6 separate regions of the Homo sapiens genome follow, and all the other regions are linked to region 6. The links are contacts of gene promoters, found by promoter capture Hi-C in blood cells and fetal thymus (Javierre and others, 2016). All regions are on one chromosome and are shown on one strand. Each heading gives the region's core, a stretch centred on a gene start or on the middle of the fragment in contact. The rest is flanking DNA. Distances are from core to core; before and after follow the strand shown.

What was found. The method cuts DNA at HindIII sites, captures the fragments that hold promoters and counts their contacts. A CHiCAGO score of 5 or more calls a contact.
Region 1: a contact is called between a fragment that was not itself captured here and the fragment with the promoter of LIN28A in region 6, in 2 of 17 cell types (M2 macrophages and M0 macrophages). The highest score is 5.8, in M2 macrophages.
Region 2: a contact is called between a fragment that was not itself captured here and the fragment with the promoter of LIN28A in region 6, in 1 of 17 cell types (M2 macrophages). The highest score is 6.3, in M2 macrophages.
Region 3: a contact is called between the fragment with the promoter of ZDHHC18 here and the fragment with the promoter of LIN28A in region 6, in 1 of 17 cell types (fetal thymus). The highest score is 6.4, in fetal thymus.
Region 4: a fragment that was not itself captured here is called in contact with the fragment with the promoter of LIN28A in region 6 in 4 of 17 cell types (M2 macrophages, M0 macrophages, M1 macrophages and 1 more); the score reaches 11.4 in M2 macrophages.
Region 5: a contact is called between a fragment that was not itself captured here and the fragment with the promoter of LIN28A in region 6, in 6 of 17 cell types (M2 macrophages, M1 macrophages, M0 macrophages and 3 more). The highest score is 11.7, in M2 macrophages.

Annotation. Positions count from the first base shown.
Region 1 is chr1:26,035,413-26,039,971 of GRCh38, forward strand. It overlaps SLC30A2 (solute carrier family 30 member 2), which reads right to left. Exons shown (of 8, transcript NM_001004434.3): 7 at 4,365-4,499; 8 at 1,840-3,893. The coding sequence ends at 3,748. EXTL1 (exostosin like glycosyltransferase 1) reads left to right here. Exons shown (of 11, transcript NM_004455.3): 11 at 1-1,052. Among named protein-coding and RNA genes, the nearest start is that of SLC30A2, 8.4 kb to the right of the region's middle. RefSeq lists silencers at 1-61, 6-169 and enhancers at 202-271, 282-371, 382-521, 802-901. The HindIII fragment of the contact is 8,648 bases long and covers 1-4,559 here.
Region 2 is chr1:26,073,738-26,078,350 of GRCh38, forward strand. No RefSeq gene overlaps it. Among named protein-coding and RNA genes, the nearest start is that of TRIM63, 8.4 kb to the left of the region's middle. The HindIII fragment of the contact is 3,860 bases long and covers 662-4,521 here.
Region 3 is chr1:26,824,416-26,828,822 of GRCh38, forward strand. It overlaps ZDHHC18 (zDHHC palmitoyltransferase 18), which reads left to right and starts at 2,273. Exons shown (of 8, transcript NM_032283.3): 1 at 2,273-2,724. The coding sequence starts at 2,390. RefSeq lists silencers at 2,055-2,207, 2,171-2,320, 2,331-2,540. The HindIII fragment of the contact is 7,154 bases long and covers 1-4,046 here.
Region 4 is chr1:26,055,491-26,059,966 of GRCh38, forward strand. It overlaps TRIM63 (tripartite motif containing 63), which reads right to left. Exons shown (of 9, transcript NM_032588.4): 5 at 2,900-3,133; 6 at 2,138-2,160; 7 at 1,713-1,837. Among named protein-coding and RNA genes, the nearest start is that of TRIM63, 9.9 kb to the right of the region's middle. The HindIII fragment of the contact is 630 bases long and covers 2,385-3,014 here.
Region 5 is chr1:26,098,689-26,103,467 of GRCh38, forward strand. No RefSeq gene overlaps it. Among named protein-coding and RNA genes, the nearest start is that of PDIK1L, 11 kb to the right of the region's middle. The HindIII fragment of the contact is 1,917 bases long and covers 1,560-3,476 here.
Region 6 is chr1:26,409,184-26,413,948 of GRCh38, forward strand. It overlaps LIN28A (lin-28 RNA binding posttranscriptional regulator A), which reads left to right and starts at 1,634. Exons shown (of 4, transcript NM_024674.6): 1 at 1,634-1,739; 2 at 2,203-2,399. The coding sequence starts at 1,709. RefSeq lists enhancers at 1-342, 343-900. The HindIII fragment of the contact is 9,111 bases long and covers 1-4,765 here.

The DNA.
Region 1 (4,559 bases), core at 1,194-3,693, 370 kb before region 6:
GGCGGGCTCCGCTCTTGGGACACCGGAGAACCTATCATGTCAGCCAGCGGGCCCACACGTCGGACCCCGGTTGGCCAATCACAACAGGGGGGCGTGGCCTTACCTTCTCCTGCTCGCCCTCAGCCGCGGAGCCTCTGCGGAGGCTGAGCCCCGCGACCGGAGCGCCGCTCTCCGCTTCTCCACCCAGCTAACTTCTGCTCGTCTTTCAGAGCATTGTCTCCTCCAGGGACTTGCCTGGCCCTCCTCCCCCTCCGCCCCCAATGGGTTCGGTCTCCTTTGCGCTTTCGCAGTCCAGTGTTTGCCGCGGTTCCCGCACGGTCAGGCCCCAGGACTGGCTTGCGAGCCCCGGGGGGCGGGTCGTGTCGTGTCCTTTTCTCTCTGGCTAGGCAGGTGTGCCGCAAATATTTGACGAATAGATGGATGGCAGACATTAACTGCGTGCCTGGCCCTATGAGGGCGGCGGCGGGACAGGGTGAGCGGAGAGACAGAACTGTCCCCGCCCCACCCCGCCACCCATTCCTAGGGTTCCTAGTCCCGGGAAGGCAACTACCCAAAGACGCCTGGGTTGTCAGGCTCAATCCTTGAGCCTCAACCAAGGAGCAGAGGGGTGCGGGTAAACGAGGAGTGGGGCGAGGAAAGCGGGATGGGAACAAGTGGCCTGTCCCCGCACGGCCCGCGGCTCAGCCTCGGCCGTCTGCCCTGCACTACCAAGGCCGACCACTAGAGGTCAGCGTCGCGCCGCACTCTTCACCCGCATGTCCAGAGGGCGGCCGGGATGTGGAGGGTGAGCGCTGTGGGCAGCTCGGGGGCTGAAAGCTGGGAAGAGAAATCTGAAGAACAGCCCCATCTCTTTCGCCTGCACACTTGGAACTCAGCAAGAAGGGACTGTTTCTAGGTGGGCTGGGCGCGAGCAGGGACTGTCCCGAGCGGTATAGGTGAGAATGGAGTTGGGGGGGGACACTAGGTCCTCCGGGGTTCACCCACCTGGAGCTGGAATTATCACTTCCGAAATAAAGCGCGTGTCCTTGCCCCCTCACGCTCCAGGCTATAAATACCCTTACAGCAGCTGCTCGAGGGAGGGGCTCAGGGCTCAGGGCTCGCCTGGGAGCGCGTGCGACTCCAGAGGGTGAGGGTGGTGGGTCCAGCCCAGGTCCAGGGTGTCAGGTGTTTTCCTGCTTTGATGGCCTGGCAGCTCTGGAAACTCCCGTGACTGTCTCACTGGCAGGAACATACTGTCCCCTTAGGCCTCTCCAAGGCCTTCCACCCCCACCCCCCAGCTTGACCTCGGCGGGCCCCTGGATGACTCAGGTCCTCCCTAGAGCCAGTCACAGCTGAGTGGCAGAGTGGGTTACCCTTGGGAGGCGTGGTGCTGTGAGATGCTTGAGGTACAGGGCGGACTGGAAATTAAAGAGGTGGGGGAGAGGCAGTCCGGCCCGGAGTCAAGAACTGAGGGTGGGTGGGAAAGCATACAGCTGGGGCCCAGGCAGCCTTCCCAGGGTGGGGAGGGCGCTGGATGCCAGGCCCAGCCAGGTGAAAGAGGCACCTTTCCAATCACAGCTGTGACACCCAGGACACTGAACTGCCTTGGCATGTCCTCACCCATGGGCCGGGCACTGCTGGTCCCAGGGGTTTGTATTGTACCAACAGGCAGCGCAGACCGACAGGCCCCCAGACCCTGCTGTAGAGGAAGGTCTACCGAAATGAGGCAGAAATCCCAGACCTGCCTGCACTGGCTGTCTGACTTCAGGAAAACGATTCAACCTCTGAGCCTGTTTTTTCATCTGTAAGAATGCAGGACAGCAGTGATGGTCTCCTTTTTTTTTTTTTTTTTTTTTTTTTAAGCTGGAGTCTCGCTCTGTCACCCAGGCTGGAGTGCAGTGGTGTGATCTCAGCTCACTGCAACCTCTGCCTCCCCGGTTCAAGCGATTCTCCTGCCTCAGCCTCCCGAGTAGCTGGGATTACAGGCACAAGCCACCACGCCTGGCTAGTTTTTGTATTTTTAGTAGAAATGAGGTTTCGCCATATTGGCCAGGCTGGTCTCGAACTCCTGGCCTCAAGTCATCTGCCTGCCTCAGCCTCCCAAGGTGCTGGGATTGCAGGCATGAGCCACCGTGCCCAGCCAATGACTGTCTCTTGAGAGGGGTGTAAGGACTTGGCATACGGCAAAGCCCAGGATCAAGTTCCTGGGGCCTGCCATGGCTTGGGTGGGGGTGGGGAGTTGGGTAGGGGAGGTTGAGTCCCCTGAGATTGTGGTGGAATGGAGCACCCACCAGCAACCCCCCACCCCTCTCCAGGCCAGTGCTTTCCACAGACTTTTCACAGACCTGGAGGGGCTGAAGGACCCACCTACCTAGAACACAGGCGATCAGGATGACAGTGCTGGGAAGGCACAAAGAGGTCATTTCACAGATGGAAAGACAGAGATTTAAAGTGGGAGGCAAGTGACCAAACCCACCTCCTCCCACCTTGGGCCAGAACAGTCAAGACAAACTCAGCACTGCCCCTGGGGAGGCTGGGAAGCCCACCTGACTCCTCAGTGAGGCAGCCTCGGGCCACAGAGTTCCCTGTCCCCAGGATGGTAAAAGTAACCAATCTTCAACAACCACAGGTACTTGGCCAACTGGCTCTTGTTCTCAACCCTGTGAGGGAGGCATCAACCCTGTCGGTGTACAGATGAGACTGTGGGGCAGAGGCCAGCTCGCCCAAGGCACTTGCTTACAATGGCAGAGACAGACCTTGTGACACAGGACTCCCTGATAACTGGGCATGTTGTCTCGATGAGTCGGGGACAGGTTTCCCCTCTTGCATCTTGTAAACAAAAGCCACCCCTAAGTCAGGAATCTTCACACACAAGCCCCAGGAAGCTGCGGTTTCCCTCCTAGCTGGCCTCTGGACCGAGTGCAGCCCCACTTGTCTCCCTTTCCCTCCACCATGTCAGGCTCCGACTGGGTCAGGCCAGGTAGGCAACAGAGTTGGCCCAGCCATATCTTTCTGGAGACTCTGAATCCCCTGGGACACTCTCAGGGCAACAGAAGTGCCAGGGGGCTTGGAGGCTGTTAGTGCAGAACCCAAGCTGAAATCTCTCTACCCCCTGCCCACCACCTGTGCCAAAGTTGTTTTTTGTGTTGGCACAGCTGAGGAAATAAGGAAAGAGGAAACCTGTCTCTTACCTAGTAAGAAGCCTCTCCCCTCCAGGAAAGGGAACATTTGGCTCATAGCTGAAGTGACTAAGGCACAGATAGGCCTCAGGTGCCTCCTGGCTCCCTGCCTCAGGGAGGCTCAAATGAGAGTGTGAGGGTCCTCACCCCCGTGCCTATTGCTATAGGCAGATGGAGGGGCTCAGATTCATAAAGGCAAAGGCCAGCCAGGCTGAGAATGGGGCATGAGGCAGGCAGTATGGGCGCGCTGGGGCCAGCCTCCCCTTGGACGTCCCGTGGCTCACCACCTTTGCCCCTGCGAGTGGTAGAACATTTGCTGAGGATTAGGCCCAAATACAGCCCTTCCAGAGCTGGCCCAGGAGCTGGAAGAGCAGGGTCACACTAGCTTTATACCCGCTGAGTCCCCACCCTGGCTGTAGTCAGATGGGAGGCTGGGAAGAGCTCCATTCCTGGAGTGGGGCAGAGGTCAGGAGGGGGACCTGGTTTACAACACAGCTGGGGTAGGCAAAGTCCTGGCTGGGCCTGGGGGACACTCAGTCCAGCCACCTGCAGGTCCTGTTCATGCCCCAGTTGGTGCCTGGCTGAGCAGTCAGTCTGAGGGGCCCTGGCATGCCTGACAGTCCTTCATGTCCTCCGAGTAGTCCTCGATCTGGATGGTCACGGTGTGGAAGTGGAACTTCCCTTGGAGGCGGCTGCTGGCTGTCTTCAGCACAGCCTGGGCGTCTGTATTCTGAGCTGGGGGCCGAGAGGACACAGCGGGGGAAGCCATTTACTCTGGCCCTTTGGAACCATCAGGAGCCCAAATCTCATACCCCATCCCCAGCAGAACAGGATGGGGGACCATGAACATGGAGAAGCCCCCAGATTCCATTCCTCTGCCAGGTAGCCTCCCAGCCCAGACCTGGCTCATGCCTGAAAGAGCTGGTAAAGCACTGGCCTTAAGGCCAGGAATCTGCCACCTACTGCCATATACTAGCTGTAAAAGCCTGGGCAAGTAACTTTACCACCCAACCCCAGCCTCAGTTTCTTCATGGATAAATGAGATTGTGCTGATCAGATGGAATAATGCGTATCAAGTACTCAGCATGAGGCTGGGCTTGATGCATGGGCACTGTGAGCATCTGGGGTCACCTGGACCCGTTGGGGATGGCACTAGGCCTTTGGCTGCCTGTCTCCCACCCCACCCTGAGTGTCCCAAGCACTCACCAATGGCGATGTGGACAGACAGAACAGGCTGGGCCACCGTCAGTGCCCAGATATGCAGGCTGTGCAGGGCTTCTACCCCCTCCACCGACAGCAGCAGATCACGAACAGCTGTGAAGTCAACGCCCTTGGGGGTCCCTGAGGACGGCAAGGACAGGGGAAACTAAAGGAAACTACCCCTCCCACGCCTGCCCATTG
Region 2 (4,613 bases), core at 1,342-3,841, 330 kb before region 6:
TCTGCCTCAGCCTCCCGAGTAACTGGGATTACAGGCACTCGCCATCACGCCCAGCTAATTTTGTTTTTACTTTTAGTAGAGACAAGGTTTCACTATGTTGGCCAGGCTGGTCTCAAACTCTTGACCTCAGGTGATCCTCCCACTTTGGTTTCCCAAAGTGCTGGGATTACAGGCGTGAACCACTGCACCCAGCCTCTTTTCTTTTCTTATTTTTTCTTTTCTTTTCTTTTCTCAGAAGGAGTCTCACTCTGTTGTCCAGGCTGGCTGAAGTGGTGCAATCTTGGCTCACTGCAACCTCCACCTCCTGGGTTCAAGCAATTCTCTGCCTCAGCCTCCGTGCCCAGCCTTTTCTAAAATATTTTAAAGAAAATGTTAGACATTAAGTCATTTCACCCATAAATACTCCAATATGCATTTCTCATAGATAAGGATTTTTGTTACATAATCACCATGCCATTATGTTAACAAACAATAATTAAAGTTTTTTTTTTTCTGAGACAGGGTCTCACTCCGTTACTCAGGCTGAGACCTCTGTTGTTTTTGTCTCATGGATCTCTTTTAAACTGTAACAACTGTCATCCCTCTCATTCTTCTGTGCCATTGATTTATCAGAGAATTATTCTGGGTATTATGATTCTCATTTTTATATATCAGGCACTGAAGCTTAAGTGACTTGTAGAAAGTCACCCAGCTAAGCAACAGACCTGTCATTTAGAATTGCTCCCAAAGTCTGTGTCATGAGTGTAGGAAGCTGTAGTGCCCAAGAGGGTCCCAGCTGGGTAGAAGACAGGCAAGGCATCAGGGAGAATGGTCTAGGCCTGGCAAGGAAAAAGGGGAGGTAGAGGGTAATAGCAATTATAATGCTGTGTTTTATTGATTTCAGTGCTTGCAAGTGGCTGGGCATCTACAAAGAGTTTTGAGGCACTATTTTATTCAGTCCTCACAACAACTATAAATAGGTTATCCTTAAATTTTTTTAATCGACAAGTAAAAATTGCATATATTTATGGTGTACCACATGATGTTTTGATATATGTATATATTGTGGAATGGCTAAATCAAGCTATTTAACATATGCATGACCTCACATACTTATTGTTTCATGGTGGGAACACTTAAAATCTACTCTCTTAGCAATTTTCAAGTATACATGTCATACTTATTGTCCTCATTTCACAGATGAGGCACAGTTTAGGGTATGGAGTTGCCCCAAGACCCACAGCTCATGTAGGCAAAGCTGCAACAGGCCTGTTTAACCCTCAAAGTCTATGCTTTTTCTTTTTCTTTTTTTAGACAGAGTCTTGCTGTCTGTCACTCAGGCTGGAGTGCAGTGGCGCTATCTCAGCTCACTGCACCCTCCACCTCCTGGGTTCAAGCGATTCTCATGCCTCAGCCTCCCGAGTAGATGAGATTACAGGTGCCCACCACCACGCCTGGCTAATTTGTTGTATTTTTAGTAGAGATGGGTTTTCACCATGTTGGCCAGTCTCTAAATCCTGACCTCAGGTGATCTGCCTGCCCCAGCCTCCCAAAGTGCTGGGATTACAGGCATGAGCCATCGTTACCAGCCTATGTTTTTGTTTTTTTTTTAATTGTCTCTAGAAAGGGAACTTTTCAGAGATCTGAGATTTTTTTGATGCCTCTTGGTTCAGAGGAGAAAACCCTGGCCTAGGGCCCAGACACCTGGGTTCCATCTCCATCTCTGTTGGAGACCTGAAATGTGATGCCCTGCAAACCATACCCACCCTCAGTTTCTTCATCTGCCAAATGGAGCATCTACAGGAGATGATCCTGAATGGTCCTTCCACATCCCCAGTGGCCAAGTTCTCAGAGGAGTGCTCCGGTGATGACACAGGCCCAAGGGGTGGTGATGCTGGAGAGGAAACAACTGTCCATCTCCCCTTTCATGTCCACATAGTTCAGGCTTGTGGAAGTGCTTCCCTGGTACATCATGGAGCAGATCTTTTTCACATGTGTGTACCTGTTCTCCCTCATTTCCTCCCTAGGAGTGTGAGGTCTGCCCTGCCTTGCTCTGCATTTCCCCTCAAGCCTCTGCTTGGAGCACCCTCAGGAAGTGGAACAGGCGTGGCACAGGGACTGTTTTTTTCTTATGGTTTAAGATCCGTATCACATGCTTTGATGTCATCCTCATTGAAGAATCATCCCAAATCACAGGATCAAACCAATGGGTCATTTGATCTAGTGGCTAAAGCTGGAGCAGTTGGCAGAGGCAGGTCTATGGGGTCTGGGACATGAAGCAGTGCCCTCAGTGCCAGGGCAAAGTCCACTGGGCCTGGCCTGCATGCCACAGAAGGGGAGCAGAATGTCCCAGGACCTACTCACTCATGGCCTGGGCTGGGAGCCACACAGGCCTCCTCCCACTGTCCCCAGGACCAGATAATGCTTGTGGACAGCTACAAAGGCTCTGGGGAGTGGGTGGTCTTTAGAGAAAGGGACTGCCCCAGGGCAAATGGAGGCAAGTAGGGTCAGGAGGGGGCTCTGCACTGATGATCCTGAAATGAAGTATTGAAAGTGCTTTATAAACTGTGCAACATATAAACTGTGAAATGCAATAAATCCTTACTATAAGAACCTAAGAGTGCAGAGCAACAAAGAGGCTGCCCCAGGACGGATGGATCTGAGTTCAAGTTTTGACTTCTTCACATATCAGCTCTTTTATCTTGGGCAGGTTACGTGACCTGTGTGTGTGAGTTTCCTCATCTATGAAATGACAATTGGGTAGAGTAATGATGTCTGTGGGCATTTCTAATCCTGAGAGTCAAGGGTTCCTAGTGACTATCCTCCCCCAGCATTCTATGCCTTGCTGAAAACTGATGGCACAGAAGTGGGAGTCCATTTGCACAGGCACGTAGCACACGTTTGACACATGGCAGACACTTAACAAACGCTGTTAACATTATCACAGTTGGGAATAACACGGGTTAGCATTTACTGAACAGTTAGTATGGGTAACCCCATGGCTTGCGTACCATCTGTTGTTGCATAACAAATTATCCCAAAATGTAGCAGCTTAAGACAATAGTAAACATTTATTATCTCATACAGTTTCTATGGGTCAGGAATTCAAGAGCAGCTAAGCTGGGTGGTTCTGGATCTGGTCTCTAAGGAGGTTGTAGTCAAGATGTTGGCTGGGGCTGGGCGCGGTGGCTCACGCCTGTAATCCCAACAGTTTGGGAGGCTGAGGCAGGAGGATTGCTTGATCCAAGAGTTTGGGACCTGCGTGGGCAACACAAGGAGACCTTGTCTCTACAAAAAAAAAAAAAAATTACCTGGGCATGGTTTTGCGTGCCTGTAGTCCTAGCTACTCAAGAGGCTAAGGTAGGAGGATTGCTTGAGCCCAGGAGGTCAAAACTGCAGCAAGCTGTGATAGTGCCACTCCAGCCTGGGCAACACAGTGAGACTCTGTCTCAAAAAAAAAAAAAAAAAAAAAAAAAAAAAAAAAAATATATATATATATATATATATATATATATATATAGGCTGGGGCTGCAGTTGAGTTTAGCAGAATGCTTGACTGGAGCTGGAGGATCCACTACCAAGATGGCACACTCATGGTTGGCAAATTGGTGGGAGGCCTCAGTTCCTCAGTACACATACCTCTCCATAGGGCTGCTTGAGCATCCTTATAACATGGCACTGGCTTCCCCCAGGGCAAGTGATCCAAAAGAGCAAGACAAAAGTGGTACTATCTTTTATGACCTAGCCCCAGAAGTCACACACTATCATTTCCATTGTATTCTACTGGACACACAGACCAACCCTGATACAGTACGGGAGGCAACTGCACAGGACCTGATTACCAGGAGGCAAGAATTATTGAGCTGTATCTTGGAGGCTATCACAGTCTGTTCTAAGTGTTTTATAGGTATTAATTCATGTGTTAATTCATGACATTGATACCACTACCATCCCCATTTTACAGATGAGAAAACTGAGTCACACAGAGATTAGGTGACTTGCTTAAGGTTACACTTCTAGGAAATGGACTGGGGTGTTGTGATGGACTGAATACTTGTGTTCCCCCAAAATTCACATGTGGAAGCCCTAACCCCAAATGTGAAGGTATTTGAAGATGGGGCCTTTAGGAGGTAATTAGGGTTAGATGAGTTCATGAAAGTAGGTCCAGTGGGATTAGTGCCCTTATAAGAAGAGACATAAGGCTGGGCAGCTGAGCAGATGGGCAGATGGGCACGGTGGCTCACACCTGTAATTCCAGCACTTTGGGAGGTCAAGGTGGAAGGATCACTTGAGCCCAGGAGTTCAAGACCAGCCTGGGCAATAGAACAGACCTTGTCTCTACCAAAAAAAAAAAAAAAAAAAAAATTAGCTGGGTGTAATGCCACACACCTGTAGTCCCAGCTACTTGGGAGGCTGAGGCGGGAGAATTTCTTGAGCCCAGGAGCTGAAGGCTGCTGCAGTGAGCTATGATCACACCACTGCTCTCCAGCCTGGGCCACGGAGAGAGACCCATCTTTAAAAAAAAGAAAAGAGACACAAGAAAGCTTGCTCTCCTTTCTTCTCTCTCTGTTTCTGTGGCTGTCTCTATGTCTCTCTGAAACTGCCTTTGCAAAAATTATAACTGAGGAAACTAT
Region 3 (4,407 bases), core at 1,023-3,522, 420 kb after region 6:
GCGGATCATCTGAGGTCAGGAGTTCGAGACCAACCTGGCCAACATGGTGAAACCCCGTCTCTATTAAAAATACAAAAATTAGCCGGGCATGATGGCACATGCCTGTAATCCCAGCTACTTGGGAGGCTGAGGCAGGAGAATCACTTGAACCCAGGAGGCAGAGGTTGCAGTGAGCCGAGGTCATGCCATTGCACTCCAGCCTGGGTGACAAGAGCGAAACTCCATCTCAAAAAAATAAAAAATAAAATAAAATAAGGATATGAGTGGAGGGTTGGCCATGGACAGAAGGAGGCCCACATCTTCTAAAAAAGAAGAAAGGACAGATGCAAATAAAGAGAAATTATGAGATAGAGAGGAGGTAAACTGAAAATCCAGTAGGATTGCTTTGGTTTCTGTAAAGTGACGAGAAAAAAGAAAAGGTTTCAGGTTGCAAGAGGACCCAGTTAAGGTGGGACAACAGGAATCTGTACTGGAACCAGTATGTCTAGTTTTGTGACTTTGTTCCACAGCCAAGGAGCAAAAAGGGAGGAAGCTCACCATGTGGTTTGCTCAAGATGGGGCTCATCATATTGAGAGCCTTTGGCACCAAAGGCACGGCTGAGCAGCCTTTGGCATATATATCAATTATTGATCCTTAAGGTCACTGTTGTCGGCTTCCTACTCCTCCCCATTGTATATTTTTACTTCCTTTTTTACTTTCTCCTAGTCTCCAGTTCTTTTTTTCCTTGCACTTTTCCTTAGGTTTTACAGTAACCACAGTGTGACAGACATACCCTAAGCTGACCCCCAATGATTCCTGCCTCCTGGTATTTACGCCTTGTGTGATTCCCTTTTCTTGAGTGCAGATGGCTCCTGTGCTTTGCTTTTAACCATAGGAGATGGCAATGATGATGGGATGCCACTCTGTCACATATATAGTAAGTTATATAAAACTCTATCATCATAGTCTGGAGCTAGAGACCCTCATTGTCAGTTTCAAGAAACTAAGTGGCTATGTAGGAGAAACCTGCATGGCAAGGAAATGTGATAATCTCTAGGAACTGCAGGTGGCTTTTGGATCCTGAGAGAGGCCTCCAGCAGACACCCAGCAAAAATCCCAGGCCCTCCTCAGTTATACAGTCACCCAGCAAAAATCCCAGGCCCTCTTCAGTTAAACAGTCGCAAGGAAGTTAATTCTGCCAATAACCCAAATGGGCTTGCAAGTGGATTCTTCCCTGGCTGAGTCTCCAGATGAGAATGCAGCCTGATTGCAGCCTTGTGAGACTAAGCAGAGGACCCAGCTAAGCTGTTCTCTGGCTCCTGACCTGGAACCTGTTAGATAACGTTTGTTTTTTGTTTTTTTTGAGACGGAGTCTTGCTCTGTCACCAGGCCGGGTGCAATGGCACAATCTCGGCTCACTGCAACCTCCACCTCCTGGGTTCAAGCAATTCTCCTGCCTCAGCCTCCCGAGTAGCTGGGACTATAGATGCCGTGCCACCATGCCCAGCTAATTTTTTATTTTTAGTAGAGACGGGGTTTCACCATATTGGCCAGGATGGTCTCTCTCGACCTTGTGATCCACCCACCTCGGCCTCCCAAAGTGCTGGGATTACAGGCGTGAGACACCGCGCCCGGCCGATAATGTTTGTTTTAAGCCTTAAATTTGTGGTAACTTGTTACACAGCAGTAGAAAATGAATACTCCCAGAATTCCTGAAAAAACACTGGGGCCCTCAGGCATGACCCCTCTACATTATGTGCTACCTAGGAAAATCTGGGCCTGGGCCCAGGACACAGAACTTGGTGAACGAGGCCAGAGGGTGTGCCACACACCTCCAGTGGGCACTCTGGACTTCAAGGTAGAAGAGGTCCTGGCTTTCAAAGCAAATCGTGTGCCCCACCTCCCCGCGCCTGCCTGCCTCTGCAAATGCCTGTCAGTTCGACCCTCAGAGATGGGCGAAGCCTGGGGAATTACAGACTGCCAGAAGTAGATCACGAAGTCCACCACCTGAATCTCGGCGTTTGGCACCGTGCCTGGTACACAGTGGACGCCCAACAAACGGCTTGCTTGCAGAACAGAAAGAGCCCTCGAGTGCGCGTCTGCTGGCCCCCTCTTTGTGCAGAAGGGAAAAGGGAGACTGGGAGGGCCGGGGACCTGCGGGGCCCCGCCGCGGGTCAGAGCTGGGCCTCCGGCCAAGCGCCATCCCGGGCCCAGGCGGAGGGGGCGCTGCGGCGGGAGGCCGCGGCGGGCGGTGGCGGCGGGCCGGGGGCGGAGCGATGGCGGGGCCGCCCCAGTGAGTGAGCGAGCGAGCGCCGCGCGCGCCGCCGCTGCCACCTCCGCTGCTCGGCCCGGTCCCGGAGTGGCCCGGCCGGCCCGCGGGGCGCGGAGCCGAGGCCCGCGGCTGGCTGCATGAAGGACTGCGAGTACCAGCAGATCAGCCCCGGGGCCGCCCCGCTGCCCGCCTCCCCGGGGGCGCGCCGTCCCGGCCCCGCCGCGTCCCCGACTCCGGGCCCCGGGCCCGCGCCGCCCGCCGCCCCCGCCCCGCCGCGCTGGAGCAGCAGCGGCAGCGGCAGCGGCAGCGGGAGCGGGAGCCTCGGCCGCCGCCCACGGCGCAAGTGGGAGGTGTTCCCGGGTCGCAATCGCTTCTACTGCGGCGGCCGCCTCATGCTGGCCGGCCACGGCGGCGTCTTCGCGCTCACGCTGCTGCTCATCCTCACCACCACCGGCCTCTTCTTCGTCTTTGAGTGAGTTCCGCTGCCTCGGCGCCCCCTCCCAGCCCCCTGCCGCGCACCCCACCTTCCCAATCCCTGCTGGGCACTCCGTGCCTTCCCCTTCGCCTCCCTGGTCCTCATCCTCCCCGCCCCTTTGGGATCCTCCTCGGGCCTCTTGTCTGCCCCCCTGGCCCCTGCGCACCCCCATCCCCGCCAGATGCCCCATCCTCCTTGGTCCATTTGGGTACCCCATCCGCGCTGGTGCCCTCCACCCTCCCAGCCCCTCCATTCTCCCTGACCCCACCCTGGCACCTGTCTGCCTGCCACTGCCAGGAACACCAGCCTCCATGCCCCTCCACGGCCCCCATCCTCGCTGCCCTCTCAGAACCTGCCCCAGGGCTTCTTGAACAGGCCCCTCCTGCTCACCCATCCCTGGACCATCTCTTGCCAACCCCCCAAGTTCTTTCTGACCCTTGTATCCCTTCCTGACCACTTCTAGATCTTGTGTGTCCTTTGGCTGTGCACACCCACCATAAACATCCTAGTCATCCTCGCTGCCCTCTCCGGGTCCCTCCAGGGTCCCCTCCTTTTCTCTAGTCTCAGACACCAACCCCGCTTTTGCTTCCCCTCAGCCACGCACACCCTAGGCCCCAAGGCATCTTTTCTCAAAATCTTTGGGCCTCTCGGGCCCCCTTTCCTTCTCCAGAACCTTCCTTAGGTTCTCCAGAGCTTCCTGTCCTTCCCTCAGATCCCGCCCGCCTCCACCCAGCCGGCTCCCAGGCCCCTGGCCCCCCTGCTGACCACCTGGCTTTCTTTCCCTGCTCAACATTCTGGAACGTCCCTCTGGCCTGTTCCACATCAGCAACAGCTGCGGTGCCTTGTTGTTTTTCAGGAAAGACTTCGGAGTGCTTTCGTGTGACAGGTCATATTTGCCCCCCTAGGTTTTTGTCCTCTTCATATCCCCCGGTGACCCAGGATTGGCCCACACATAATCTCCATTTTATGGATGGAGGGTCATATATTTGTATTAGAAGTTTTCCACCCACCTCTGAGCCACCTGCACTGTGATTCCTTGCACACACACTCACACGCCCACCCACCCACCCTTGCTTCATAAGCCCTGCTGTCCCCTCCCAACTCCCCATCCTTTGTGGTTGTTCCTCTTAATTATACAGTGTAGTTAAGAACTCTAACAGACCTGGTTCAAATCCCAGCTCCACCACCCACTAATTGCGTGACCTCAGGGCAGTCACTTCACCCCCTCAGTGCCCCAGTTTCCTCATCAGTAAAATGGGATTTATAATAGTACCCACCCCGTAAGGTTGTCCTGAGGGTGGCATGAGGTCACACATGCAAGCTTTTAGCCCAGTAACAAGCACACTATGTTGGCTGCTATTAGTACTTGTGTTGTCTTTATCAAAAAACACTTCCCAAGGGCATGTGGCCATGGTAAGGCTATCATAGAGACACCCGCCCCCAGGTACCCTTTCTAGCTGCCAGATCATGTATCTGCAACTTTGGGTTTCCCCTTGAAGCAAGGTGAAGACTTCCTATAAATTAGCTTCTCCCTTTACCCTTTAACCACACACTCTGCCCTTTTTTTTGAGTAGGGTGGATAAAAAGTTCAGGGATGATTTACAAGCAGAAGCTCTGGGGGGCCCAGAGCTCAGCTCTGGGCTGAGTTTCAGATCCACTTCCCTGGGCTGGCCACATGAG
Region 4 (4,476 bases), core at 1,450-3,949, 350 kb before region 6:
TCTTGAATATCTATTTCTTTCTTTTTTTTTTTTTTTTGAGATGGAGTTTCACTCCTGTTGCCCAGGCTGGAGTGCAATGGCGTGATCACAGCTCACTGCAACCTCCTCCTCCCGGATTCAAGCAATTCTGCTGCTTCAGCCTCCCGAGTTAGCTGGGATTACAGGCATGCACCACCATGCCCAGCTAATTTTGTATTTTTAGTAGAGACGGGGTTTCTCCGTGTTGGTCAGGCTGGTCTGGAACTCCTGACCTCAGGTGATCCACCTGCCTTGGACCCCCAAAGTGCTGAGATTACAGACGTGAGTCACTGTGCCTGGCTGACCCACTCTTGAATATCTTAGCTTAGGGAAGCTGACAGTGGAGCAGCTCACTACAGCAGTGGATGTCCCCAAGGCCATTGGTGTCTCTGCTTTGGGATGTATTTTGTCCTTACCTATGAATGGGGTATATCTGGGGCTCTGAAAACAGACTTAGCACCAGCTACTGAAGGTTTGTAGGAGAGCGACACAGGAGGTGCCAAGAAGCTCTTCTCTTTCTCACGCCAGCCATTTACAGTTCTTCCTTGTTCCTTCATCATCCCCTTGTCCCCCAACCTCAGCTGGTCATTGGAGCACCACCTCTCAGACCAACGCAACAGTCAGCAATGTGGGATCTGCCCTCTCTTTCTCTGTTGCCTTTTAGCTGTGTTTCCCTTTTAGCTGTGTGACCTTTAGCAAATTAACATATTTGCTTCCATTCAGTTTCTTCATTTCCTTTGTTATTTTCACCCTTATTATTGTTACGGTTGCATTGTTACAATTATTATAGGCACTCTATGGAAGAGTAATTATAAACAGAAATGAGGACATGATGTTGATCAATTAAGGTGCCTGGGTATCATAGGTGATAGCATTAAGAAACTGAAGCTAAGACTACCTTTAGGCAATAACTAGTACATCTTTAGGGCTCTACAGGACCTTTCTGCATTGATATCTGATTTTTTGCAACAGCACCATGAGTTGGTCATTATTAGAGGGCTCACTTCTAACCTGACTTTTTAAATTAGAAAATAAAACTCAGGCAGAAGGGGGCTTGCCAAAGGTCACACAGATAAACAAATGACAGAACCAGGATTTAAACTCAGGACTGTCTGATTCCAGAGGGCATATTATTTCTACTGCCCCAAGAGGCCTCCCTGCCATGGATCCATATGTAATTTATGAAGCAGGAATTCTGCACCAGGCACTGTGCTAGGCTCTGGGCTCATCTAGAAATCGACTATATGAATTTTTTTTTTTTTTTTTTTGAGATGGAGTTTGGCTGGCTCTTTTGCCCAGGCTGGAGTGCAGTGGCACAATCTCGGCTCACTGCAACCTCTACCTCCTGGATTCAAGTGATTCTCCTGCCTCAGCTTCCCAAGTAGCTGGAATTACAGGCACATGCCATCACGCCTGGCTAATTTTTGTATTTTTAGTAGAGATGAGGTTTCACCACGTTGGTCAGGCTGGTCTCAAACTCCTGACCTCAAGTGATCCGCCCACCTTGGCCTCCCAAAGTGCTGGGATTACAGGCATGAGCCACCACAGCCGGCCAGAAGTTGGCTATATGAGTTTGATTGATATTTGGGGATCTTTATTAGTGTATCTGCCTCCCCATCGGGCTCAGTTGGAGGGATGCTGGTTTCCAGGGGTCAGGCAGGCAAATAGACAAGTGGCATCACCACCTCCTTTACCTGTCCCAAAGTCAATGGCTCTCAGGGCGTCTGCTATGTGCTCTAAATCCAAAGTAAAGAAGTCCATGTTCTCAAAGCCCTGCTCTGTCTTCCCCAGCTGGCAGCCCTTGGAAGCTTCCACAATGCTGCAGGGGAGACAGAAAGAGAGGCAGGATGAGGTCTCTGGGGCTCAGTGCAGGGAAGAGAGGGCACATGCTTTGCCACGCCCAGGCCTTCTACCCAGAGGCTCCCCTGGAGGGATGGAGTATTTCCTCTCCAACCTCAAGCACAAGGAGTGGTCCAAAAAGTCAGGGATGCAAAGGGTCAGGGAAGCCAGCCTAGAGTGAGACCCTCCCAGCAGGCCTAATGCCCAGGATGAGGCTTCCTGGACAGAGGTCCTGGTGGGAACTAGGTGCTTGGATCATAGCCTCTAGGAAGACACTGACCTTTTGATGAGTTGCTTGGCAGTCTGCAGGGGGAGAGAGAACAAAGGATTAGGACCGCAGAAGAGGTAACCGCAGGAAATCAGCAAAACTAGTGAACTAGGTGTTGTAGGTAGATATTTGGTGCCATTCCCTAGCCCAGTTGTGACCTGCTCCCCACCCCAAACTGAGCAGAATCTGGAACTTTTCCCTCTGTCTGTGGTCTGTACAGGTCTTGGTCATCACCCTAGGACCCACTGTCTTGACAGGAAGCTTGGATTCTAGGGGTATCAATCCCAAAACTCCTAAACCCTGAACTCCCCAATCCTAACCACCTTTTCATACCTAATGTCTAGCAAAAAGCCTGGCCCACAGTAGAAGCCTAGAACATTTTTATTGAACTGAACTATGAAGTCTTATAACTGAGCCTTTTCTGTCCTCCCCAACAAGCTCTTTGAGGGCAGGGCTGTGTCTGGTTTATCTCCTTGTCTTCCACCTCAGTGCCTGGCCTACAGTAGGGGCTCAATTAATAGTCTGTAGATGGGACACTGTATTTTGCAGCTTACAAAGTCATTTCATAAACATCCTCTTATCTTATCATCATAAAATCAGTAAGAGGAAGGTGGGGGGTGTTACATGCCCATTTGACAGATGAGGAAACTGAGGCTCACAGAGGTTTAAATGGCTTTTCCAAGGGCCCATGGGTGGTCAGTGGGGAAGCATAACTTGAACCTTAGAGCTGTAGAGTTGAACTGACCCCACCCAGACCCTTCTAGTCCTGCTCACCAAGAGGAAGGTGGCTCCCCCAGGCTCGTCCAGGGACTGGATGGCAGTTTCCACCAGCTTTGTGGACTTGTCCAGCTGCTCCTGGTACTGCTGGATGAGGGCCTCGATGAAGCTAAGCTTTTTCTCCTGCTCCTGCGTGATCCGCTGCAGCAACTCACTTTTCTTCTCATCCAGGATGGCATACAACGTGTCAAACTTCTGGCTCAGCTCTTCCTTTACCTGGTGACTGTTCTCCTGAGGACGGAAGTCTTGTGGTCACGTTCTGTAGGGTCTTTATTCCCTGCCCACTACACTGCCTTCCTAGGACAGTAGCAAGGAATCTAAAGCTAGAAGAGATCTCACTACATACATCCCCACACTACAGAAGAAGAAACAAAGACTTAACAAGAAGAAAACACTCATCTGGCCTCACAGCTATTTAGTACGCCAGTGATATTTGGAGGATGATGCCTTGAAAAACAGCTAGCCCCTTCTTCCAAAATAGAGGCTCTAGGGTCACATGACACAACATGTTCTTCCTTGTTCCTGCACCCTCCCCCTGTCCCCCAACCTCAGCTGGTCATTGGAGCATCACCTCTTAGACCAATGCAACAGTCACCCAATGTGGGATCTGCCCTGTCTTTCTCTGTTGCCCTTTTTTTTTTTTTTTTTTTGAGATGGAGTCTCGCTCTGTTGCCCCCGCTGGAGTGCAGTGGTGCGATCTTGGCTCACTGCAACCTCCACCTCCCAGGTTCAAGCGATTCTCCTGCCTCAGCCTCCCGAGTAGCTGGGATTATAGATACGCTACCACGCCTGGCTATTTTTTTGTATTTTTAGTAGAGATGGGGTTTCACCATGTTGGCCAGGATGGTCTCGATCTCCTGACCTCATGATCCACCCAGCTTGACCTCCCAAAGTGCTGGGATTATAGGCATGAGCCACTGTGCCCAGCTCTCTGTTGCCTTTTAGCTGTGTTTCCCTTTTAGCTGTGTGACCTTCAACAAATTAACGTTTCCTGGGCCTCCCATATGTCCCAGTTCACACTCTTCCCTCCCTTTCAGGACCAAGACTGGATTCGGGAAGCTCTGCATCATTTGGTCCTAGGAGAGGTGGAAAAACAGCTCCTTTCCTAGCACCCTCCTCAACCGAAGCTCCCTTCTCTCTATGTTCTTTTCTATAAAATGGGTGTGACAATAGCATCTCATCAGACCGGGAGCCTCTCGTGGGTGATCACAATGTTCCCCTCCTTCCTACCCTTCGCCCAACTCTTCATCCACTAGCAATTATGATGACCCCTTCCCCTCATCTCATCTCCAGATCCCTACCCCAAGTGAACATGGAAAATCGTGGAAGCTTTTTTCAGGGATAGAAAAGTTCCCTTCTGCCCTCAACAGTCTCACTACTCAACATGTGGTCTGTGGACCCAGCAGCTTGGGCAAATCCTGGGAACTGGCTAGAAATGCAGCTCTTATGCCTCATTCCAAACCAACTGAATCAAAACCTGAATTTCAACATGATCCCAGCGTAATTTTCACGCACTTCAAAGTTTGGGAAGTGTTGGTCTACAGCACACTGAAGAACTGTGCTCTGAAAACAAT
Region 5 (4,779 bases), core at 1,268-3,767, 310 kb before region 6:
AGGATCACTTGAGGCCAGGAGTTCAAGTTTAGCTTGGGCAACATAGCAAGACTATGTCTCCACATAAGTAAATAAACAAATAATTAGCTGGGTATGGTTGCATGCACCTGTGGTCTCAGCTACTTGGGAAGCTGAGATGGGAGGATCGCTTGAGCCCAGGAAGTCAAGGCTGCAGTGGACTGCGATCGTGTCACTGTACTACAGCCTGGGCAAAGAGCAAGACCCTACCTCAAAAAAAAATAAAAATAAAATAAATAAAATCTTTACTTAAAACTCTTTGGTGATTGACAGGTTGACAGATGAACAAAATATAGTATATACACAAAACGGAATATTGTTCAGCCTTAAAGAGGAATGAAATTCTGACACATGCTACAACATGGGTGAAACTTGGAGACCTTACACTAAGTGAAATAAGCCAGACACAAAAAAATAAATACTGAATTATTCTATTCATATGAGGTACCTAGAATAGTCAAATTATAGAGACAGAAAGTAGAGGCTGGGTGCGGTGGCTCATGTCTGTAATCCCAGCACTATGGGAGGCCGAGGCTAGCAGATCTACCTGAGGTCAGGAGTTCGAGACCAGCCTGGCCAACATGGTGAAACCCCATCTCTACAAAAAATACAAAAAATTAGCCAGGTGTGGTGGCAGGCACATATAATCCCAGCTACTTGGGAGGCTGAGGCAGGAGAGTCGCTTGAACCTGGGAGGTGGAGGTTGCAGTGAGCTGAGATTGCGCCATTGCACTCCAGCCTGGGAGAAAAGAGTGAAACTCTGTCTTAAAAAAAAAAAAGTAAAATAGTGGTTATCCAGTTACCAGGGGCTGGGAAGAGAAGGAATGGAGAGTTATTGTTTAATGGATACAGAGTTGCAGTTTGGGATGATAAAAAAACCCCGAATGTCCGGGCTGGATGGTTCACACCTGTAATCCCAGCATTCTGGGAGGCTGAGGCAGGTGGATCACTTGAGGTCAGGAGTTCGAGACCAGCCTGGCCAACATGGTGAGACCTTGTCTCTACTAAAAATACAAAAATTAGCCAGACATGGTGGCACATGCCTATAGTCCCAGCTACTTGGGAGGCTGAGGCGGGAAGATTGTGTGAACCGGCAGGTGGGGGTTGCAGTGAGCTGAGATCACACCATTGCCCTCCAGCCTGGGAGACAGAACAAGACTTCATCTCAAACAATAATAATAAAAATAAAAGTTCTGGATGGTGGTGATGGTTGCACAACAATATAAATGTACTTAATGCCGTTGAACTATACAGTTAAAATGATTAAATCAGCAAATTTTATGTTACCTCTATTTTACCACAATTAAAAAAAAAATAGACCCTTGCTGACCTGTTGCTTTTATGCCCAAATCCATAACATGATCTACAAGACCCTACAGGATATCACCCCTGCTTGTGTAGGGGTTTTAAGGCTAAACCTTACAACTTATTCCCCCTCCAGTTGGGATCTGGACCTATTAGGAAATCCCAATGGCAATCAAGGCAATGGAGAGATAAAAATATGGGCCTTATTACTGATAAAGTTGGGCTTTGGAAGCAAAAGCTTGTATTTATACCCACAATGGAGCTTCCTAGTATCTTCCTCTCCCCATCGTTTCCCCCCAGCTCTTGATTTAAACTTCCAGCTGAGGCCTGCATAGAGCAGCTGGTACCGGCCGTCCTGAATGCCAAGCATGCTCCTCCCTCCGCTTCTCACTTAGCTCATTTCTGCCCCTCGGTCATTTCTTAGCATAAGTGTCACATGTGGCTGGGTGCATTGCCTCACGCCTGTAATCTCAGCACTTTGGGAGGCTGAGGCGGGCAGATCACTTGAGGCCAGGAGTTCGAGGCCAGGAGTTCAAGACCAGCCTGGCCAACATGGCGAAACCCCGTCTCTACTAAAAATACAAAAAATTAGCCAGGAGTGGTGGTGTGTGCCTGTAGTCCCAAGCTGTCTGTGAGGCTGAGGCAGGAGAATCACTTGACCCGGGAGGCAGAGGTTACAGTGAGCTGGGATCGCACTATTGCACTCCAGCCTGAGGAACGGAGTGGGACTGTCTCCAAAAAAAAAAAAGAAAAAAAAAAAAGGCCTCTGTCATATGCTCAGAGGCTTTCCGTGGCCCATACTACCTCCCTCCTCCCTGCCTCCTAATAAGTCTCATGCGCCCTAGAGCTTCTCCTGCATAGCGCTTTCCAGAACTGTATTTATGTGTCTCTTTCCATGATCATTGTGGGTGTAAATAAGAAGGCAAGTTTCATGAGAACAGGCACTGCGCTATGGTCTCCATGTGTCCCCCTAAAATTCATGTTAAAACTGAATTGCTAGTGTGATAAGAGGTAGGACCTTTAGTATGTGATTAAGTCATGAGGGTGGAGCCATCATGGGTAGGATTAGTGACCTTATAAAAAGCGTGCAAGGGGCCGGGCACGGTGGCTCATGCCTGTAATCCCAGCACTTTGTGAGGCCAAGGCAGGCAGATCACGAGGTCAATAGATTGAGACCATCCTGGCCAACATGGTGAAACTCCGTCTCTACTAAAAAAAAAAAAAAAAAAAAAAAATTAGCCAGGTGTGGTGGCACGTGCATGTAGTCCCAGCTACTCAGGAGGCAGAGGCAGGAGAATCACTTGAACCTGGGAGGCGGAGGTTGCAGTGAGCCGAGATTGTGCCACTGCACTCTAGCTTGGCAACAGAGCACGAATCCGTCTCAAAAAAAAAAAAAAAAAAAGATAAAAGGGGTGCAAGGGAGCTATTCATCCCTTTTTGCCCTTCCACTTCTGCCTTGTGAGGATGCAGCACCAAGCCACCATCTTGGAAGCAGAGACAGCAGCTCTCACCAGAGATGGAATCTACTGGCACCTTGATCTTGGTCTTCCCAGCTTCTAGGACTGGGGGAAGTAAATTTCTGTTGTTTATAAATTACCCAGTCTAAGGTATTTTGTTATAGCAGCATGAACAGACGAAGACACATTGTGTATGCCGTATGTTTCCTTCATGGCCACATCCCCAGTGCCTAGCACGGTGCCTGGCACTTTGGCTCCCATACACATTGCAGAATATTCCATTCACTAGCACTCCTCTCCAGGAGAGTTCTGTATACTGTTGGAAGACAAATGTGGATAAGGCTTGGGGCTGGGAGGTCAGGGGCCAGCCTAAGTAATATTCGCAGCTACATGAATTAGCGGGCCTTGTGGAGTCTACAGGTTTGTCCAGGGTCCAGGAGGTCAGGACCATCGAGAGGCTAAGTGTGGTTATCTGTGCCTCCTTCCCAGCCCCTGCTCTAAATAACCATAGAGCAAATATTTGAAGAATGTCAGCTTAAAGGAGTGTCTCACTCTGACCCTCAAATTTCTATTTATTTTTTAAATTGACAAAAATTGTATTTATTTACTCATATGTACAACATGATGCTTTGAAATATGAATACATTGTGGAATGGCTAAATTTAAGGCCCAGTGTAAATGCTACCTCCTCTCTAAAGCTTTCCTGCCCGCCATTCCCCTCCACAGAAGCACAGTTTGGATTTCCTCCCCTGGGCTATGTAACCTCAGCTGGCACTGGTTGAATTGTACTGTCTGCATATTTATATGTCTGTCTCCCCTCCCAGAGAAAGTCCATGAGGGCAGGGACCTTATCTTTCTGTTCACTGCTTTTTCTCAGCATCAAGCACAATTTCTTGCACGTGGTGGATATTCACCAAATAGCTGTTGACTTAACGAACAAAGTGCCACCATGTGCCAGGCACTAGTTGACTTCTGAAGAGAGGGGTATATGTCAAGACATTTGTTAGCCACCCACCAGCCTCTGAATTTAAGCCTGCCAGTAAGCCCCATCCTTCAGGACACAGAGCTTGGTCAAGGAGGGGCCCACAACCCTATCTCTTACCCCCTACTCCCTAGCCCCTAGCCAATCAGGTCCAACAAGACTTAATTTCAGGAATGTTGTTTGAGGAATAGAGAAGTTGACTTTCTCATTCCTGCAGGATATGATCTCATAAGGCTGAATTCCCACTGGTGACCCCGAGGCCCACAAGGGAAGCCAGCCTTAAGATGAAGGCAGCATCATGGGAGGCAGAACAGAGGAAACTAGAGTCTTTGGTGACATGTGAGCTGCTGAATCAAACTTCCTTCCCGAAGCTAGCCCTCCCACCTCCATTTCTCTTAGGTAAATGTACCAATCATTCCTTTCAGTCACTTTGAGTTGAGTTTCTGCTCTTGCAACATGAAGCATCCAGAAGAGGCCAGAGAATCAGAGGAAGCCGAAGCTTTAACACTTCAGGACCTGCTGAGGAGTCGGGTGAATCCTCAGTTTGGGACACTCCCAACACCCCCATCCAGCATGGTTTTCAGATGGTGGCATCCCCAGCAGCTCTTGGACCCAGGGGCAGGAGATGTGAACCTGGGTCTTAACCATCAGCTGCTCCAGCTGTTCTCAGTCCTCACCAAGAAGACAACTAGGACCCATCCAAAGACAAAAACAGCTAATGTTATACCTGGTGCAAGACCTTTGTGGGCCCCCAGATCACTTGTCTCAGGGGCTGGATCAGAAATAAACATTTTGATCTTCTTATTACAAGCATAGTGGAGGTGTAGGATTCAAGAATCAGAGTGTTGGAGCTATAAGGATCCTTAGAGATGAGCTGGTCAGACCCCCTCATTTTGCAGATGGGGAGACTGAGGCCCACAGCAGGGGGGAGTCTTTCTTGCTCAAGATGACACAGCGTGTTAGTGCCAAAGCTAATACCCTTCCTAAAGGAGTTTCTCCCTCAGCCTCCCCCTGCAG
Region 6 (4,765 bases), core at 384-2,883:
GGAAATAACTTCTGCAGTCTCTTGCTTTCCTCCCCATCTTCCCCTTCCCTACCCCCACTCATCCGGTCTCTCTGAAATACACATGTGCCCACATCCGCACGTGCACACACACACACACACAAACACACACACAGAGCCACAGCGTGAGAATTCCAAAAGGTTCTGCACACTCGGTGGAGAAGATTGAATTCAGAGCAAGCGGATGCCCCCGAAAGCAGGCTCTGTCCCTTTAAATGGGTTGTAGTGGTGGGGGAGGGGAACTGGCCGGAGCTGGCATTGTCCAGTTTGAACTGAACACCGGAAGTGAAGGGGCAGGGCCAGGGCCGTGCACTGAGCCCCGGGCCATTGTCCATCTCCGACCAGGGCAGTAGCCACCCCCACTAGCCAGCCGTCTTTATCTCCTAGAAGGGGAGGTTACCTCTTCAAATGAGGAGGCCCCCCAGTCCTGTTCCTCCACCAGCCCCACTACGGAATGGGAGCGCATTTTAGGGTGGTTACTCTGAAACAAGGAGGGCCTAGGAATCTAAGAGTGTGAAGAGTAGAGAGGAAGTACCTCTACCCACCAGCCCACCCAGTCCCTCTCTCAGCAGTGGATGGGGATGGGGTGGGGGTAGGACGAGAAGGCAGCTGGTGGAGAAACAGCTTCAAGACTCTTTGGGTTCCTCCTGCTCTCCAGGGAGCTTACCTGGGGCTAACTTTAGACACACAGGTTTGGAGGGAGGAAAGAAGGAAGAATTCTTTACAACGAATCAATTAAGAGCACTTTCTCTTTTCTAACTGGGGGAGGCCCAGAAAAACTCTGAGTCAGAAACTCTGGGAGGCAGACATTCAGATGTAGTCAGAGGCAGACAGACTTTGGAAGGCAGCGCTTTGGTCAGGACAGATCAGCCCTGTGTGTCCCCAGCCTCTCCCCTGCTCCCCCATCCCGGGCTTCCCAGTGTCCAGAACTCCAGGTCTATCTAAGCACACGGGGGTGGGGGGTGAGAGCGGGTCAGCTCCAAGCAGCCGGGTCAGCTCAGAGGCCTGAGGGGGAAGAGAGGGGGAGGGGAGCTCAAGGGCTGGGGGAGGGGGAGGGCCCATTCATTTCTCCCTTGACAGGTGGTTTGTGTTTCTGATTGGCCAGCGCCGCCAGGCTCACACCTCCCTCCCCCAACTCTCTGGAATGTATAATTATCTGCCCGGGGGGTGGGGGTGGTGTGTGTGTGTGTGTGTGTGTGTGTGTGTGTGTGTGTGCAGTCACGTGGTTTTAAAACTACCCCCCCCACCAGGTCCCCCACCTGTATCTGCTTTGGGGACCCCTACTGAGTCCAAAGTGCAGGATCTCAAATTCCGGGGTACTCAAGTCTTCTAGGGCAGACAGACCCATCTCCAGTTGTGCGTGTGGGGAGGGGGTGTCAAACCTCAAGGTTCTGAGAAGGGACACCCCAGAGGTGTCAGAGACCGGAGTTGTGGGGGAGGGCCGGAGCTGGAGCCGGAGGGAAAGGGAGGGGAAAGGAGAGGGAGGGGAGGGGAGGGGGCTGCCCGCGGGGGGTTGGGTCATTGTCTTTTAGAATTTGGGAGCCTTTGAAAAGCCGTGGGCCCTCCCACCGCTATTGTGCGGGGGAAGATGTAGCAGCTTCTTCTCCGAACCAACCCTTTGCCTTCGGACTTCTCCGGGGCCAGCAGCCGCCCGACCAGGGGCCCGGGGCCACGGGCTCAGCCGACGACCATGGGCTCCGTGTCCAACCAGCAGTTTGCAGGTTCGAGCTCGGGACTTAGCGGGGACACTTTAGGATTCAGGGGCGGCCAGGAGCCACGTAGAAGGGAGGTGGGGAACTGAGTCCTAGGCTGCCCAAAGGACCCCAAGACGGTGCGGCCTTCTGCTTCATAGGGCCGTCTCTGGGGCCAGGAACCTTGGTGTCCCAGTGGCGTGCGCGCCAGACTACGTGGGTGGATGGAGAGGAGAGGCTTGTCCCGCCGTGAGTCTCTGGGAAACGCGTTGTGGGAAGAGGAGCAAAACTTTCGGGGCACTACTGTCCCGGTGTACGCTAGGGGAACGCGGGAGGCGACCGGGATAGGTTTCTTCTCTTCTGTTGCTTGGTAGCTGCCCCCTCCTGGCTGTCCACTTGTGGGGCTGGATACTCGGGTCTCCCTGCCTGGGGCCCGAGACGGCCCTCCGATTCCGTGCCCCCCAGCTAAGTGCCCGGCCCTCCCTCTCTCCAGGTGGCTGCGCCAAGGCGGCAGAAGAGGCGCCCGAGGAGGCGCCGGAGGACGCGGCCCGGGCGGCGGACGAGCCTCAGCTGCTGCACGGTGCGGGCATCTGTAAGTGGTTCAACGTGCGCATGGGGTTCGGCTTCCTGTCCATGACCGCCCGCGCCGGGGTCGCGCTCGACCCCCCAGTGGATGTCTTTGTGCACCAGGTGAGACTGATTCCGGTAACTTTGCCCAGGGAAGGGCGTCTAGGCGCCCATATCCACGGGTGGGCTCCGGGCTCGCAGTTGAATTGAGGGCCATCGGGAGCCCTCATTATGCATCCCTGTCTTTGCTTCGGCACCCCAATTCTGAGTCCCTGTTAACTATCTCGTGGGGGAGTAGTGGGAGGCAGCACCAATTATCAGCACCCCCGCCCCCTTCCGGGAACCCCTCCGGCTTACCACGTGTCTATTACCTCTTTCCCCTGGGAAGGGGCAGGGGGCAGGGAGGTGACCCCATGTGGCAGAAACTAAGGTTGTATTGTGCTTGCCGGTGGGGGGAGGGCGAGCAGGCCGGCCAGGGAAGCACATGCCGGGCCTAAGCCGGGAGCCCAGCTCCTCCAACGTCTGAATGGAGCTCAGAAGGCGGGAGAGAGTGAGGGCAACTGGCTACTGGACCCAAGGGGCGTAAAGCCGAGAAGTCAGCCTCATCCCCTTTTTAATGCAGACCTCACCTGGCTGGTCACTAAAAACTGGGTTTGGCAGATCCCTGAAGGATCCCTGTGGGGGCTTGAAAGCTCAGGACTGGGGTCTTTGCTGTCCAGTTCCCGTGAGGAAGGAAAACCCAAAGAGCCCAGGCCTTCCTTACATTCCTGGGCCAGGCTGGGAGGGAAGTCGGTAGGTCGCAACCCCAAGTTCTCAGTTAAAGCAGGGCAGCACAGTAGGGGGTGAAATTCAGTGTCGCAGGGCAGGGGGTGAAGGGAGGCTGGCCTCTGGTCCTATTCTCCGCTTGGCATTTATGGCCCCAGACAGCCATTGATTGCTGTCTTAACATTCCTGGCCTCAAACAAGGAGCCAGAGACTTCAGGTCTCCCTCCTCCCAGGCTTCCCCTTCCTGAATATCCTAGAGGCATTCCGGTGGTCCTGGGCCACCAGCTACCCATAAAGACCATGGAAAGGAAGTTGCTTGCTGCCTATGGCCCTTCCATCTTTGGAGGTTTGGGACTGGATCTGGAAAGAAGAAATTGCTAATCCCAGATCGTGTAGGTTGACACCCAGGCCGGGCAGGGAGGGGTTACTTAAGGGAGGTTGGCTTTAGGAGGTGTGGGGGAGGGGAAAGGAGGATGTGGGGATTAAGGGTTGGAGCCTGAAGGGATGGCATTCTTTGGGGGAGGGGTAGAGAAGGGAGATGCTGGATGGACTAGTTGGAGGCAGCAGGGACGTCTTTGAGCACAGCCTTCAGTGAGGAACAAACAAGGGAAATAGACGCAGGGAGATGGGGAGCCACCACTTACTGTTGGGGCCATGGGGTCAGTGGGCTACTTGAACATCTGCCAAGAGGACCTGCAGCAGGATACTGAGCTGCCCCTTTGCAGCACCCTTATTCCCCCAACCCCCCATTAGACAGCTAGTTTCCCACTAGTGGCTTTTCTCCCTTCTCTGTCTCATTTACATATGTGAATGATAACCCACAGGAAGTAATTGTGGGAGAAAGAAGGGAATTGGCCTTTTTAGATCTATTAAATCACTTTATTACAGGAACCAGCTTTGAATGGCCCTCCTCAGCAGGGTAGCAAGCCTCCCCCACTCTCCCATTTATCTGATCACAAAGAGATTAAAATCTTTCCTGGTCTGGGGACTGGACAGCTCCCCCAACTTTGGGAGGCTGGAATAAAAGAGTCAGACCCAACGTTTTCTCATCTCCCATCCAAAGGCTGCCAGATAGGGAGGGGCTGAGGGGAATGTATCCCCTCATCTTCTGGGTTCCTTGGTGATATACATACCCCAAGGAAGGTGTTTTCTTGTTTTGTTTGTTTGTTTGTTTGAGCAAATGGGGACTTGGGCCTCAGCAGGCTTCACCTTAGGATCTAGAGCAATTGGGAAACTATTGGATGGCATAGAGCAGGCATTGAGTCTACACCATGCTGGGTCAGATGTGCTGGCTTGGAAATACTCTGGATTTTAGGCTCTTGGAACATCCAGGAACCCATAGTTGAGTAAGTTGTCAATAGGGAGCTGAGCTGGAAGAGAATTAAGAATTTGTCTCTCTAATCCCCAGCTCTTCCCATTCTACTCACAAAGCACAATGATGGGTGGAAATTCCCTGAGCCTTTACCTGGTAGCTCTGATAATGGTAGCATGCCAGAAAGGCTTGGGTCAGGGGTCCTCCAACCCCACCTTAACCGTAAGTTAGATTAGTGATTCCAGTCTTTGCACTTGTTTTTTTGTTTGTTTGTTTGTTTGTTTGTTGCTTTTTTTTTTTTTTTTTTTGAGATGGTGTTTGGCTCTTGTTGGCCAGGCTGGAGTGCAATGGCATGATCTCCACTCACCGCAACCTCCGCCTCCCAGGTTCAAGCGATTCTCCTGCCTCAGCT